Regions from separate parts of the Homo sapiens genome. Here regions 1 and 2 are each linked to region 3. The links are contacts of gene promoters, found by promoter capture Hi-C in blood cells and fetal thymus (Javierre and others, 2016). All regions are on one chromosome and are shown on one strand. Each heading gives the region's core, a stretch centred on a gene start or on the middle of the fragment in contact. The rest is flanking DNA. Distances are from core to core; before and after follow the strand shown.

Region 1 (4,317 bases), core at 658-3,157, 190 kb after region 3:
GAAGGCAAAGGGAAGGAAGCTGGTTAATGTGTCTATATGGTCAGCCTCTTCAAACAAAGATAACGGTGGGAAAGGATGAAGATGAGATGGGAGGACTGGCAAATGGAAGACACCTGGCATACCCTTCCTCCTGACACCCAGGGGAAGTGATGGTAAAAGAACAGAAAAGATTCACTCTCACACTATGAGAACAGGAGAGGGATCACTGGTGGGTCACTGAGTTTCCCCAAAGATTTAGTTGAAAGGTATAGACAGATGTGAATTAGCTGGAGAGGGAAGGCAGAGAAAGCCACAGCTTGAACACAGGTCGGGGGGGTCTGTGTCTGAGAGTAGGAAACTGCCCATGAGAAGTTCTAGTTTCAGAAGTGTCAAGCTTGACAACCAAAAAGTGAGCAGTGGGGCTGGCAATAGGGGAAATAATTAAAGGGTCTGTATTCTGAATAATCAACCCTGCCGTATGCCTCCTCAATTCCAAATGCTAAAAAGGCCAGCAGCCAGGTAATAATTCTGCCCTTGGCAGATGGGCATAACATCAATCTTCAAGGTAACAGGAGCTCTCAACAAAGGGGGGCAAGCTGAATGTAGAAGGCCCAACCTGAATTCACCATTGTAAAATTTCAGAATACCAAGAAAAGACTTCTGAAAGAAGAAGTCAGCTATGCAAAATAAAAGAATCAGAGTCAGGTTACTTTTCCTGTGAGCAATACTAGATGCTAGAGGACAATGCGGTGTGACTTTCAGATTTCTGAAGGAATTTATTTTATACCCAGAATTCTATACCCAGCCAAATTATCCACCAAGTTCAAGGTAAAAATAAAGGTAGTTTTCAGACATGCCAATACTCGGAAAGTTTCTCTCCCACATACCTCTTCTGGGGAAGTTACTTAAGGATTTAGTCTTGCCTCAGAAAGGTCTAGCTGACATGGAAGAAGACAAGGAACTTGGAGAGCAGGAAGGAATCCAAATGTCAGTTGTATGGCAGCCAGAGGAGCCACCATCCCTGCCTGGAGCATCAAAACAACAGGCTTCAGATGGGAGATGTCCAAGGGAAAAAGTGAGTGAATTCCATGGGAGCCTATGACTAGGCTTTGTAACGGTCGAGAATGTGAAAAATGCATAGAATGCAAGGCAAGAAAAAAAAAAAGACAGCTAGAGTCTCTAGGAAAACCTAACAGATGCGTAATAAAGTCATAACAAAATATTATGAAATCAGGACAGATTTGAGCAGAAGTCAGTGGAGTTAGAATACAATAAATTATATGGAATTTATTGGTAATAGGAAAAAAACCTGGAAGTTATTAGTGATACAATGAAAAAAACACGTTTCTTCCCTCATCAAGAGCAAAGAAGGGTGACCAGCAAAGGGGATGGGGGAAATTATACAAGAAAGGTGTCATCTAAACATAATGTAGAAAATATGTCATGAATGTGAGCAATTAATCAGGTGTAAGAACAAATTCTTTTGGACATTCTTCTGTGAGTAGCACAGAAGTGGGAATATTAAGATAGCTGGGAAGAATGTAGTCATCGATTCTTCTTGGCTCTGGAGCAAACAATACTGTTTATAACATACATGTACTTCAGTGGCCCACCTGTGATCCCTCTCCTGTTATCGAAGTGTGAGAGTGAATCTTTTCTATTCTTTTACCATCATTTCCCTGGGATGTCAGGAGGAAGGGTATGCCACATATCTTCCATTTGCTGCTCCTCCCATCTTCTCTTCATCCCTTCCCACCATTATCCTTGTTCCAGGAGGCTGACCGTATAGACAGACATATTAACCAGCTTCCTTGCTGTGTGCCTTCTGGTTGGATTCAGCCAATGGGGAGCCCCGGCAGATGATTAGAGAGAGAAAAGAGTGAGGCCAGGGCATTTACTTGCTGCCTGGGACTCTCCCCAGATATTCTCATGGCTTATTCCCTTACCTCCTTCAGGGTTTTCCTCAAATATCACCTTTTAGAGAGAGCTTTTCTGACTATTCTATCTAAATTGTGACACACACACATATTCCCTATACACCTTATAGCTTAATGTTTTTCTAAGCACAGCCAGCATACTACATATTTTGCTTCTTCATCTTGTTTTTTATCTCCCACATTAGAAAGTAGGTTCCATGAGGACAGAGATTTTCTACTCTTATGTTTATTGTGGTTTCTCCACCACCAGGGGCAGGGACTTGCTCAGGGTAGGAACTGAATAAATATTTGTTGAATTAATAAATGTTGAATAAAGTTGTAGGCAAGTCACTTAAGGAATATTTGGGTTTGTGTGACAGAAAGTAAACGTCATTACACTTGGCAATGTAAAGGTAAAAGCATAGGCCAGGCAAGGTGGCTCACACATGTAATCCCAGCACTTTGGAGTCCAAGGTGGGCGGATCACCTGAGGGCAGGAGTTCAAGACCAGCCTGGGCAACATGGTGAAACCCCGTCTCTACTAAAAGTACAAAAATTAGCCAGGCATGGAGGTGCACACCCATAGTTCCAGCTACTCGGGAGGCTGAGGCACAAGAATCACTTGAACTCAGGAAGCAGAGGTTGCAGTGAGCCAAGATCATGCCACTGCACTCAAGCCTGGGCAACAGAGTGAGATTCTGTCTCAAAAAAATAAGATAAAATAAAATAAAATAAAGGCACAGCTCACAGAAGTTGGGGGCTGGGAAGGCAAAAAAATGCAGAAGGAAGAAGAAGGTTAGGAGTGCTAATATTCTCAATTTATTATGTGGACAATCAAGATACTATTGATAAAATAAAAAGTAAAGGTTTAATAAGGTTACTTAACCTTATTAATAACCTTATAAAGGTAGCAATTAAAATATTCAAACATAATAATGTAATCATATTGGTATGAGTGAGCCAGAGAAGGTGAAAGACATAGATTGAGTTAAATTTCATCCAAATTTCAATTCAACATAGCAAAAAGCTACTATAGTTTTTAAGTTGAGACATCCAGAAGTATAAGCATAAGAGTAGTATTTAGAGTATGGCAATGAACTTAACAACCTTATACTAGAAATAGTTAAACACAGTGGCTGTGATATGGTGGTTTCAATAATGAAAGACTACATTTTATCAAACTAATACTTCTATAGATAATAATTATAGACTCTGGACAAAATGTAAAGAAACTATCTGAAGGCATTAGAAAGTGACCCAAAGCACACATACAAATGGCAACTGCAATAGGTAAGATCAATGTCCTTAAATTTTCCCTGAAGGCACTCTCTAGTCTGCAAGAGGTAGAGAAGCTAAAAATGAAACAGAAAGCCTGAACAGCAAGAGAGGCTGAAAATTGAGGGGGAGAAAACCCAGGGGAAAAAAAAAGAATCCAAATAAAGAGTCCTTAAATTTGCATATAAACTCCTCTCAAATCCTTAGCTGAACTGTGCACATTCAGGGAAACTCTAGGAAGCCTTCTGAAAGGCAACAGCTGGGAGACTGAAAAGCTTGAGCAGAGATTTCAACTGTCACCCACTACAGGAGAGACAGTTTGGATTTGGAATCCTACCAAGTTAGAGGGACTTAGCAAACACTCAGGCTTTCCATCAAAACCACAGAAGGGCTGTGATTTAGAAGGTAGAATATGCCCCAAGACTGAGGGGTTACCCTGAGACTAAGAGGAAAACTGAAACACACTTACCTAACGAAGTCTGAAATGAAGAATCCTCAAGTTCATGGTGACAGGCCACTAATTAGACTGCTTGATAGAACAAAAAGAAACAAACTTCAGAGACGTATAAAAGAATCTAGAGTTTCTACAGTGTGTCATGCAAAATATCCAGTATACAATTAAAAAAAAAAGACATACAAAAACAGGAAAATGTGGTCAATAGTCAGAAAAACCTTACTCAATAAAAGTAGATAATCTTGTTAAAATTGGTAGACAAAGATGTTAAAGCGAAGATGTTAAATATTCAAAGAATTAAAGGAAATTTCAGCAGAGAAATGCAAACTACAGAAATTTTAGAACTGAAAAGTAAAGTATCTGAAATAAAAAATGTACTGGATAATTTTAACAATAAATTAGATACTGCAGAAGTGAGAGTAAGTATAGTTTAAGATGGATCAACAGAAATTACCCAGTATGAAAAACAGAAATAAAAAGTTGAAAGAAGAAAAAACACTAAAGTCTCAATGAATTCTGAGAGAATATCAAGTGGTCTGACAACATGTGCAATTCAAGTCCAAGAAGGAAAGGGCAAGGAGCAAAGAAAATTTGAAAAAATAATGCCCCAAATCTCTCAAATTTGGTAAAACAAAAAACAAACACACAAGCAAAGCTTATACATTCAAGAAGCTCAGTATGTACCAAAAAGAG
Region 2 (4,216 bases), core at 1,661-4,160, 220 kb after region 3:
GAAACTTACTTTAAATATAATAGCATAGGTAAAAGTAAAAGGATGGAAAACAATATACCATGGTAATACTACAAAAGAAAGCTCAAGTAACTATATCAAAATTAGACAAAGTAGATATTAGGCCAAAAAGTTGGTCCAAAAAACAGAAAGGCATTACTTTTTTTTTTTTTTTTTTGAAACAATTTCTCTGTGTCACCTAGGCTGGAGTGCAGTGGTCCAATCTTGGCTCACTGCAACACCTGCCCAGAAAGACATTACTTAATGATTAAAGGATCAATTTACCAAGAAAATATAGCGATCCAAAATATGTATGGAACTAACAATAGAGCTTCAAAATACATGAAGCAAAAACCGAACTATTGGAAATTTAAAATATAATGATTAAAATAAAAAATTCAATCTGTCCCAAAATCTGGAAGTTCAAATCAAAGAAGTTTGATATACTTACAGAAAAATGAAGGAAGGGAGGAAAGAAATTAAAAGAAAGAAAATAGGAGAGAAATTTTAAAAGAATTAGATCAACTAGGGTTGGAAACTATCAAAAAAACAATGCAAGAACAAATTCCAAAACTAAAGACAATGATGAGTTGCCAAGCCAAAATGTCTCCCTGAGAAACCAGCACAATTAATGAAACAATACTTACTCCAAGGTTCATCTCTATAAAATTTCAGAACTCCAAGGATTAAAAGAAAATTCTAAGAAAAACAGGTCACATAGACAGAAAAAGCCAAATGGTATTGGACTTCTTAATAGCACCATTGGCTTCCATTATTGCTATTGAGAAGTCAGCTGTCCGTCTAAATTCTGTTGTTTTTATGCAATCTGCCTTTACTCCCTGGATATTTTTAAGGTTTTACAGATCTCTTCATATTGAATTATCTGTTATTTCATCATGAAGGATCTCAAGTGGAGTTTTATTTTGTTTTGTCCTGTTCTCTATCCTACTTGGGATTCATTATGATTCCTGAATGTGAAGTTTCATTTTTTTTCATGAGTTCTAGAAAATTCTAGTATATAGCTCTGCCATTTTTCTTTTGGATACTGCTTCTTTTTCATTCTATTTATTCTCTTTTTCTAGAATTCCAATGAAATGTATATTAGGCATTCTTACCCTATCCTTTATGTCTTTTAGCCTGTGCTTCATATTTCCTATCTCCTTGTTTCTCTATACTGGATTCTGGATAGCTGAGCTCTGCTTTCCTGTTTGCTAGTTCTCTCTTCAGCTATGTCTAATCCGCTGTTTAACCATAAGGTTCTTATTTCAATGTGTTTTTTTTTTCATTTTTAGAAGTTCTATTTGAATATTTTTCAAAACTACCTGATTTTTTTTCTTAGTTTACAATTCTGTTTTCTTTTTTTATTTCTTTCAACATGAAAGCACATTTATTTTATATTCTATGTCTTAAAATTTATAGTATCTGAAGTCTTTAGGGAACTAATTTCTACTCTTTGTTGTTTCTGCTAATTTTCATTTGCAATGGCATGTTTGCTTGTGTTTTTCTTGATTTTTCAATATCAGCTTATGTTCATCAGGACTTTTCTGTGGGGATTTCATGAGGCCTGGCTTGGGAGTGCATTCCTCCAGAGAAGATCTGCATTTGCTTCTTTTAGGTACCTGAAGATATTCCCAATCCAGGACCACTTTACATTAATTTCTTGGCTTGAGGGTTATGTACTGTGCCAGTGCCATAAATTAGAATGTCACACCTTATGAAGGCTGGTCTGAATTCTAAATTATCAGGGGAAGTTTCTTTTTCTAATTCTGCCCAGGGTCCAAGCTGAAAAAACCACATTTCCTTACTGGATCATCTCTTTTAACTGCACAGATGTGTCTCTAGATCAACACTGTTCAAACCTTTCAACTTTCACAGGCCAAGGCCCTTGCACCCCGCAGGTAAAACTCAAGACTCCAGGTGGTGGGAAATTACCAGGCAACCTTAGATAGCCACTTTGTGACAAAAAGGTTTTGGGATATCTAGTCTATCATATTGTCAGAAATGGAAATAACCAATCCTTCTTTTCACTTCCTCTAGATTTTGAGTGTAGAACTGCTGAGTGAATCTAAGTGAGACAAAATCCTTTTCCCACACAGGAAAATACAATTTGGTGTTTGGAAAAAGGAAATTGGGCCACCATCTTTTTCTTAGATTAGAGGAATCTAATTAAACTACTATCTCTTGTAATCAAGAAACATTTACCTGAAGTTCAACAATTTCTACCATTTCATTTTGTTATATTTTGAACATTACATTCAAGCAAAATTACATAATGTTTAATAAACTTTATTTTCTAGAACAGTTCTACATTCATAGCAAAATTGAGAGGAAGGTACAGAGATTTCCTATATACCCTCTACCCCCACACACACACAGCCTCCTCTATTGTCAACATCTCCTACCAGTGTGGTACATTTGCTATAACTGACGAACCCACATTGAAACAGTATTGTTGCCTGGAGTCCATAGTTTACATTAGGGTTCATTGTTGATCTTGTACATTCTATAAATTTGGGCAAATGTGTAATGACATACATCCACAATTGTAGTATTATACTAAATAGTTCCATTGCCCTAAAAATCCTCTGTGCTCTGCCTATTCATCTTTCTGTCCTTACTAACCCCTGGAAACCACTGACTTGTTTACTGTCTCCATAGTTTTGCCCTTTTCAAAATGTCATGTAGTTGGAATCATGTAGTATGTAGCCTTTTCAGATTGGCTTATTTTACTTAGTAATATGCATTTAAGCTTCCTCCAGGTCTATTCATGGCTTGGTAGCTCATTTCTTTTTAGTGCTGAATAATATTCCATTCTCTGGATGTGCCAATCTATAAAGACTGAAAGAGGTGCCTACTTCTTCAAATGCACAGACACCAACACAAGGCCACAAGGAGCATGAGTAATCAGGGAAACATAACACCACCAAAGGAACAACATAAAGCACCAGTAACCAATCCTTTAAAAATGGAGATCTATGAACTGCCTGATAAACAATTCAAAATAATCACTTAAAGAAACTCAGTAAGCTGCAGATAATACAGATAGATAACTAAACGAAATCAGAAAAACAGACTTAGAAGCTTAACAAATAGAATAGAAGCCATAGAAAAGAACCAGTAAGAAATTCTGGGCCTAAAGAACACATGACTGAACTGAAAAATTTCATATAGAGTTTCAACAGCAGACTTGGTCAAGTAGAAGAATATATGCAAATCAATAAATGTAATATACACATTAACAGAATAAAGGATGAAATCACATGATTATCTCAAAAGATGCAGAAAAAGCATCTGGCAAAATTCAACATCACTTCATAATTAAAAACTCTTAACAGATTAGGTGAAGAAGGAATATACCTCAACATGATAAAAGCCATATGTGCCAAGCCCACAGCTAACAACATACTCGATGGCGAAAAGCTAAAAGGTTTTCTTCTAAGATCTGGAATAAGACAATGATGCCAATTCAATTTAATAAAGGCATTCAAATAAGAAAGGAAGAAGAAAAACTGGCTCTGTTTGAAGAGGTTGCATACAGAAAATTCTAAAGACTCCACCAAAACATGTTTAGGGCTAATAAATGAATTCAGTGAGGTTGTGGGATACAAAATAAACACAGAACAATCAGTAGTATTTATATACACTAACATCAAACTATCCAAAAAGAAATCAAGAAATGATCCCATTTATAATAGCAATAAAAACATAAGATTCTTTTTTTTTTTTTTTTTTTTTGAGATGGAGTCTTGCTCTGTCGTCCAGGCTGGAGTACAGTGGCACAATCTCGGCTCACCAAAACCTCTGCCTCCCGAGTTCAAGCAATTCTCCTGCCTCAGCCTCCTGAGTAGCTGGGATTACAGGCATGAGCCACCATGCCCAGCTAATTTTTATATTTTTAGTAGAGACGGGGTTTCACCATGTTGGCCAGGCTGGTGTCAAACTCCTGACCTCAGGTGATCCACTGCCGCAGTCTCCCAAAGTGCTAGGATTACAAGCGTGAGCCACTGTGCCCGGCCAAAAAACATAAGATTCTTAAGAATAAGTTTAACCAGGGAGGTGAAACATCTGTACACTGAAAATGATAAAACATTGATTAAAGAAATTGAAGAGGAAACAAGCAAGTGAAAAGATATCCTATGTTCAATAATTGGAACAATTAATATTGTTACAATGTCCATAATACCAAAGCTGTCTACAGATTCAGTGCAATTCCTATCAA
Region 3 (4,475 bases), core at 1,509-4,008:
AGTAGAATATCCTATTTTCAGGGTCACCAGTACCATGGTGAGATTTGTCTCTTAAACAATGACACTTAGTAGCTCTGTAGTTCCATGAATACTTTTGAAGTGTCATATTAAAACCAATCTCATGGCCTTGAGGCAAAGAGAAGCAATTAGTCTTGGAGTTGTGAATAAATAAAAATCCATTTATACACCCGTCCTTGACATGTACCTTGCAAATCTTAGAAACTTCATCTAGTGGGAAAATAAATGTTAAATCATGAATACCCATACTAATCACATTGCCATGTGGCTTCCTAAAACAGTTTCGCTTATACCAATCTTTCAAGTATTAATTTATATGTATATATTCACCCAGATTGAACACGAAACAAAGGCGTTACCGCAGCCACCTAGGATGAGGGACAAAAGAGGTGTGAGGGGCGCTGGGGGCCACAGGAGCCATGACAAGCGGATTTTCAGTGAGTCCCTCATCCTCCAACACAAGCCTGCTCCACCTTCCCTCATTCCACCCTCCACAAAGGCCTGGGGCGGGGGAGGACGTTTCTGTCCATGAAGTTGGGGGCACCCACACACACAACCTCGTCCGATTGTGATTCTAGCCAGCATTTAAGGGTGGATACAGGAGATCAAAGTATTTGAATACTTGCTTCACTTTCTATTTGTGTCTGGTCCCTCAATGCTGAGTGGGATGTGCATTGATGGAGGGCTTTGCTGTTCCTATGTCGTGCTTGGGACAGTCGGCCACAAAGCTGGGCTGACCTCTCGGGCCGGGCCGGGCCTGGCCAGCGTGCCGAACGCGCAGAGAGCGCGCTGCTGAGCCGAAGCTGGGAGCTGGAAGCCCGGAGGTACCGGGGCGTAGGGAGCAGAGTGGGCAGCCCTTGGGCCTCGCGGGAGCCCCTCCCAACCCCTGCACAGATCCCTGACCTACTTCCAGGGCTTCTTTCTGTTCCAGGAGCAGCTCAAAATCCATAAATTAAGGAAATTAACTGATGGGGCCTGCGGCATCTTTGTAAGCTATTTAAATCTATAAATTTACAACATCTTCTGCATATATCAAATAATTGAACTAACTGCAGGGATGTAACTTTAATGAGAAAATTTCCCCCTTTTTCCTGTAGTTCGAACTCGAAAATAAATAAATAAATAAAACCTTCCCTTAGGAGGAAAGTTTCGGCTGATTCCCGCGTAAAGAAGTTACGGAAGCGCTGTCTGGACGCTCTCTCCACGCGCGCGAGGTCCTCTAGTAGAGGGAGAAAGCCCCCCCCACTTCACCTTCCTCCCACTGGCACCCCGAGTCCCCCTCACCCCAGCTCCAGGCCGACCCCGAGCGCCCCCCACCCCGGGAGTGCGGCCGCTAGGGGGCGTCCAGGCCCGGCCGGAGCCGGCGGTCGGGACCCAGGCGCCGTTCCGGCCCGTGCGCACCCGCCCCGCGGTCCCAGCCGGTCTCCGGCCCGGGCGTCCCTGGAGCCAGGCGGGGGCGCAGTGCCGGCCAGTCGCGCGCTCCGTTTCCTAGGAGCCGGGAAATGGTCGCCGAGGAGGAGGAGGAGGCACGGGCGGGGCGCAAAGGAAACAGGAGGAAGAGGAAGGGGAGGAGGAGTGGGAGTGGGAGAAAAGGAGGAAGGGGCGGCCGAAGCGGAGACTGGGGAGGGGCGTCCGGGGCGCGGACCTCGGCCGCGGGGAGTCTTGGCTGCCGCCGTCTCCATCGCGCCGCGCGCGTAAAGGAAATGGCGCGTCTAGCCGCGAGCGGTCGGCCCGGTGCCCCAGCGCGTCCCTCCCCCGCGGCGGCCGACCGCGTGTCCGCAGACGTCACGGGAGAGGGGCAGCGGGGCAGAGACCCTGGGAGGGCGGCCAGGGAGCGGGGGAGGGGCGGCCTGGCCCCCGGCTCCGCTCCAGCCCCGACCGACTGGCAGCCCAGTTTCTTCCCAAGTCCCGCCCCCAGCCCCGGGCGCCGCGGCGGCGGCTGCTCTCCTCTTTGTAACCGAGGAGTCAAGAAATGTGAGAAACGTGCCCTGTGTTACTTATTTGGGAGCCGAAAATTTATGCCCAGCTGAAAGCGCCCGGGGAAATATTACATCAGATGAAATGACAATGATTAAAATCAGCCTCTCCCCCGCCCCCTCCCCGAGCCCGGAGGAGGCCCGGGCGCCGCGTGGCCGGCCGGCGGGGGGCGGGGGGCTGGGCCGCGGAGGGCGCTGGGGCCTGGGCGCACCGCTCCCGGGAGGGTCCTGGCCGCGGCCCCGGCGGGAAGGCGCGGGCTTCGGGAGAGGCGGGTGGGGATCGCCCGGCGAAAGGAGGGGAAACGGCGCGTTTTTGTCGCCAGGCGCGGGCGCGCGGAGCTAATTGCGACTCTAATCCTCTGCCCCGCGGCGCAGCCGAGCCCCGAGCCAGGAGTCGCCGCGCGCGCCCGTTCGCGCTGGGTAATTTGGGGCCGGATCGCTGCCCTTTACGTCCGGGCTGGGCCGCGGCGAGGCGCTGGCTAGGGGCTGGAGTGGGGGGCTGGTTTTCTCTCCAGCAATCGAGGGAGGCCGCCGGAGAGAGAGGAGGGAGGAGAGGAGGTGGGAGCGGCGGGAGGGCAGCCGGAGAGCGGCGCGAGGAGGAGGCGGCGGCGGCGGAGGCGGCGGCCGCGAAGAGGGGAGGAGGCGAGGGGAGGGTGGGGAGGGGAGGCCCCGGCGCGCCGCGCCGCGAGGGGCCGCGTGAAGCGGGGGCCGGGGCGGGAGGGGTGGGTGGGGGGAGGGTTGGGGGCGAGAGAGAAAGTAACTCCAGGACGAGACCGGAGCGACCCGCGCAGCGAGCATAGGCGGCGAAGCTGCGCCCGGCGCCCGAGACCGGCAGCTGCGTGGGGCGGGGGCTGCGCCCGAGCCCGATCTGCCGGCTCCGAGGTAAGCTCAGCGCGGGCGGCCACCGCTCAGAGCCGCGCAACCCTGCCCCGAAGTGGCTGCGATACCGAGAAAGTCGCCCGGCCAGGGTCTGGACCTGGGCGGGGGCGGCCGCTTTGTCCCTCTGCTGGGCGGCGGGGGCTGGCGGCGCGGGGGTGCCCAGCACAAAGGCCTGGTGCAAGAGTGGGGTTGCCCACGTGGGCTGGTCCTGGCCGCGGGTGGACCCTCCCCACGCGGGCGGTCTCGGAGCTTCCTGCCGCGCGGTGTGTGTGTGTGTGTGTGTGTGTGTGTGTGTGTGTGCGCGCGCGCGCGCGCGCGCTTGTGGAGGTCCCCGCACTCTGGCCCCTGTTCTGGGCCGAGCGCCCTGCAGAGCTGGCGAGTTTCCGGGGTCAGAAACGGGCTCACGCAACTGGGGCTTCGGGATGCACAAGTCCCGGCTTGGCGCCCAAAATCAGAGAAAGTCTCCAGTGGGACAGATGTGCGTCCTCTGACGCCCACCCCACGAGTCCGAAACCTGGCAGGAGGGGCTGTCGCGCTGGTGGTGGTCCCGGGCGCGCAGGGTTTGGGGCTGGGAGAGGGGCCGCGATGGGAGGGATCGCCGCCTGCAGATCCGGTTCCCCGCTGCCCGCCCGCACCCCCTGACCTGGACGCGCGCACCCGGCACACACTCGCAAACACACCCGGGGGCGGACCCCCGCCTCTGCAGCGCCTTTCTGTCTTCCGGCGGCCCCCACCCGCGACTGCAGAAAGATAAGCTTCAAGTTTTCGCTCCGTATCTCAAATGTGCATGAAGGAATTTAACTGCACGAGTGAATAACAGCATTAGTTTCAATTAATTTTTTTTTAATCCCGGCAACAATAAACTTTGAGAACAAAAGCGCTTTTACGTCCTTAATTAGGCGAGCTTCCCATCTGTGGTCTCCAAGTGTCTGCCTCTTGATTTAACTTTGTCCCCGCCCCGCCTCCGCGGCAACCCCTCCCAGCCCAGCCCCGCGCTTCGGGTGCCGCGGCCACCCCGCCCCGCGGCGCCTCCAGCCTTGGCCCAAGCCCTCTCCCGTCGCCCCTAAGTTCACACCGGCCGGCTGGCTCCGCGGCGGAGGCGGGAGGGGGGGGGTGGGGAGGCTGGCGCGCACCAGGTGGCCCGCCTGCCTCTCCGGGGCCACCCCTGGGACAATTGTGCAGGCCCCCAGGACTTTCGCCCCGGGCCAGCGCCCTGAGTGCGGAGCCGAGGGGAGCTCGAGAGGCGCCTTCTGTTTACCTTTTATGGTTAAAATAACAGCTTAGCAAAGAAGCGACTTCAGAAGAAGCGATTTAGTGAAATCGTCTCAAGCTGCCGCAGCTCAGCCAGTTTAATCACCCCCAGAGAGCCGAACAACTGCGAGCGCAATGGGACACAAAATCATTTTGTGTGTAAATGAGCGTGGCATTCTGCTCACTTCTCTCTGCTCGGGCGGGCGGGGCTCGGCGGCGGGCGGGCAGGGACCCGGGTCTCCCGCCGCAGCTGGAGAAGCGGGTCACTACCGGGCCAGTTTGGAAACCTGTGGGCCCTCCCGACCGCTATCGCTGAGGCCCCTGCAACAGGCGGGCCAGGGCGCACTGGGG

Evidence for each region. Contacts are between HindIII fragments. The CHiCAGO score rates a contact against its expected background, and 5 or more counts as called.
Region 1: a fragment that was not itself captured here is called in contact with the fragment with the promoter of KCTD15 in region 3 in 3 of 17 cell types (endothelial precursors, M2 macrophages and M0 macrophages); the score reaches 6.4 in endothelial precursors.
Region 2: a contact is called between a fragment that was not itself captured here and the fragment with the promoter of KCTD15 in region 3, in 2 of 17 cell types (endothelial precursors and M2 macrophages). The highest score is 6.2, in endothelial precursors.

The regions. Positions count from the first base shown.
Region 1 is chr19:33,987,719-33,992,035 of GRCh38, forward strand. No RefSeq gene overlaps it. Among named protein-coding and RNA genes, the nearest start is that of SUNO1, 85 kb to the left of the region's middle. The HindIII fragment of the contact is 3,072 bases long and covers 372-3,443 here.
Region 2 is chr19:34,009,817-34,014,032 of GRCh38, forward strand. No RefSeq gene overlaps it. Among named protein-coding and RNA genes, the nearest start is that of SUNO1, 110 kb to the left of the region's middle. The HindIII fragment of the contact is 332 bases long and covers 2,745-3,076 here.
Region 3 is chr19:33,794,112-33,798,586 of GRCh38, forward strand. It overlaps KCTD15 (potassium channel tetramerization domain containing 15), which reads left to right and starts at 2,759. Exons shown (of 7, transcript NM_001129994.2): 1 at 2,759-2,876. RefSeq lists an enhancer at 183-692 and a silencer at 1,338-1,457. The HindIII fragment of the contact is 5,196 bases long and covers 1-3,626 here.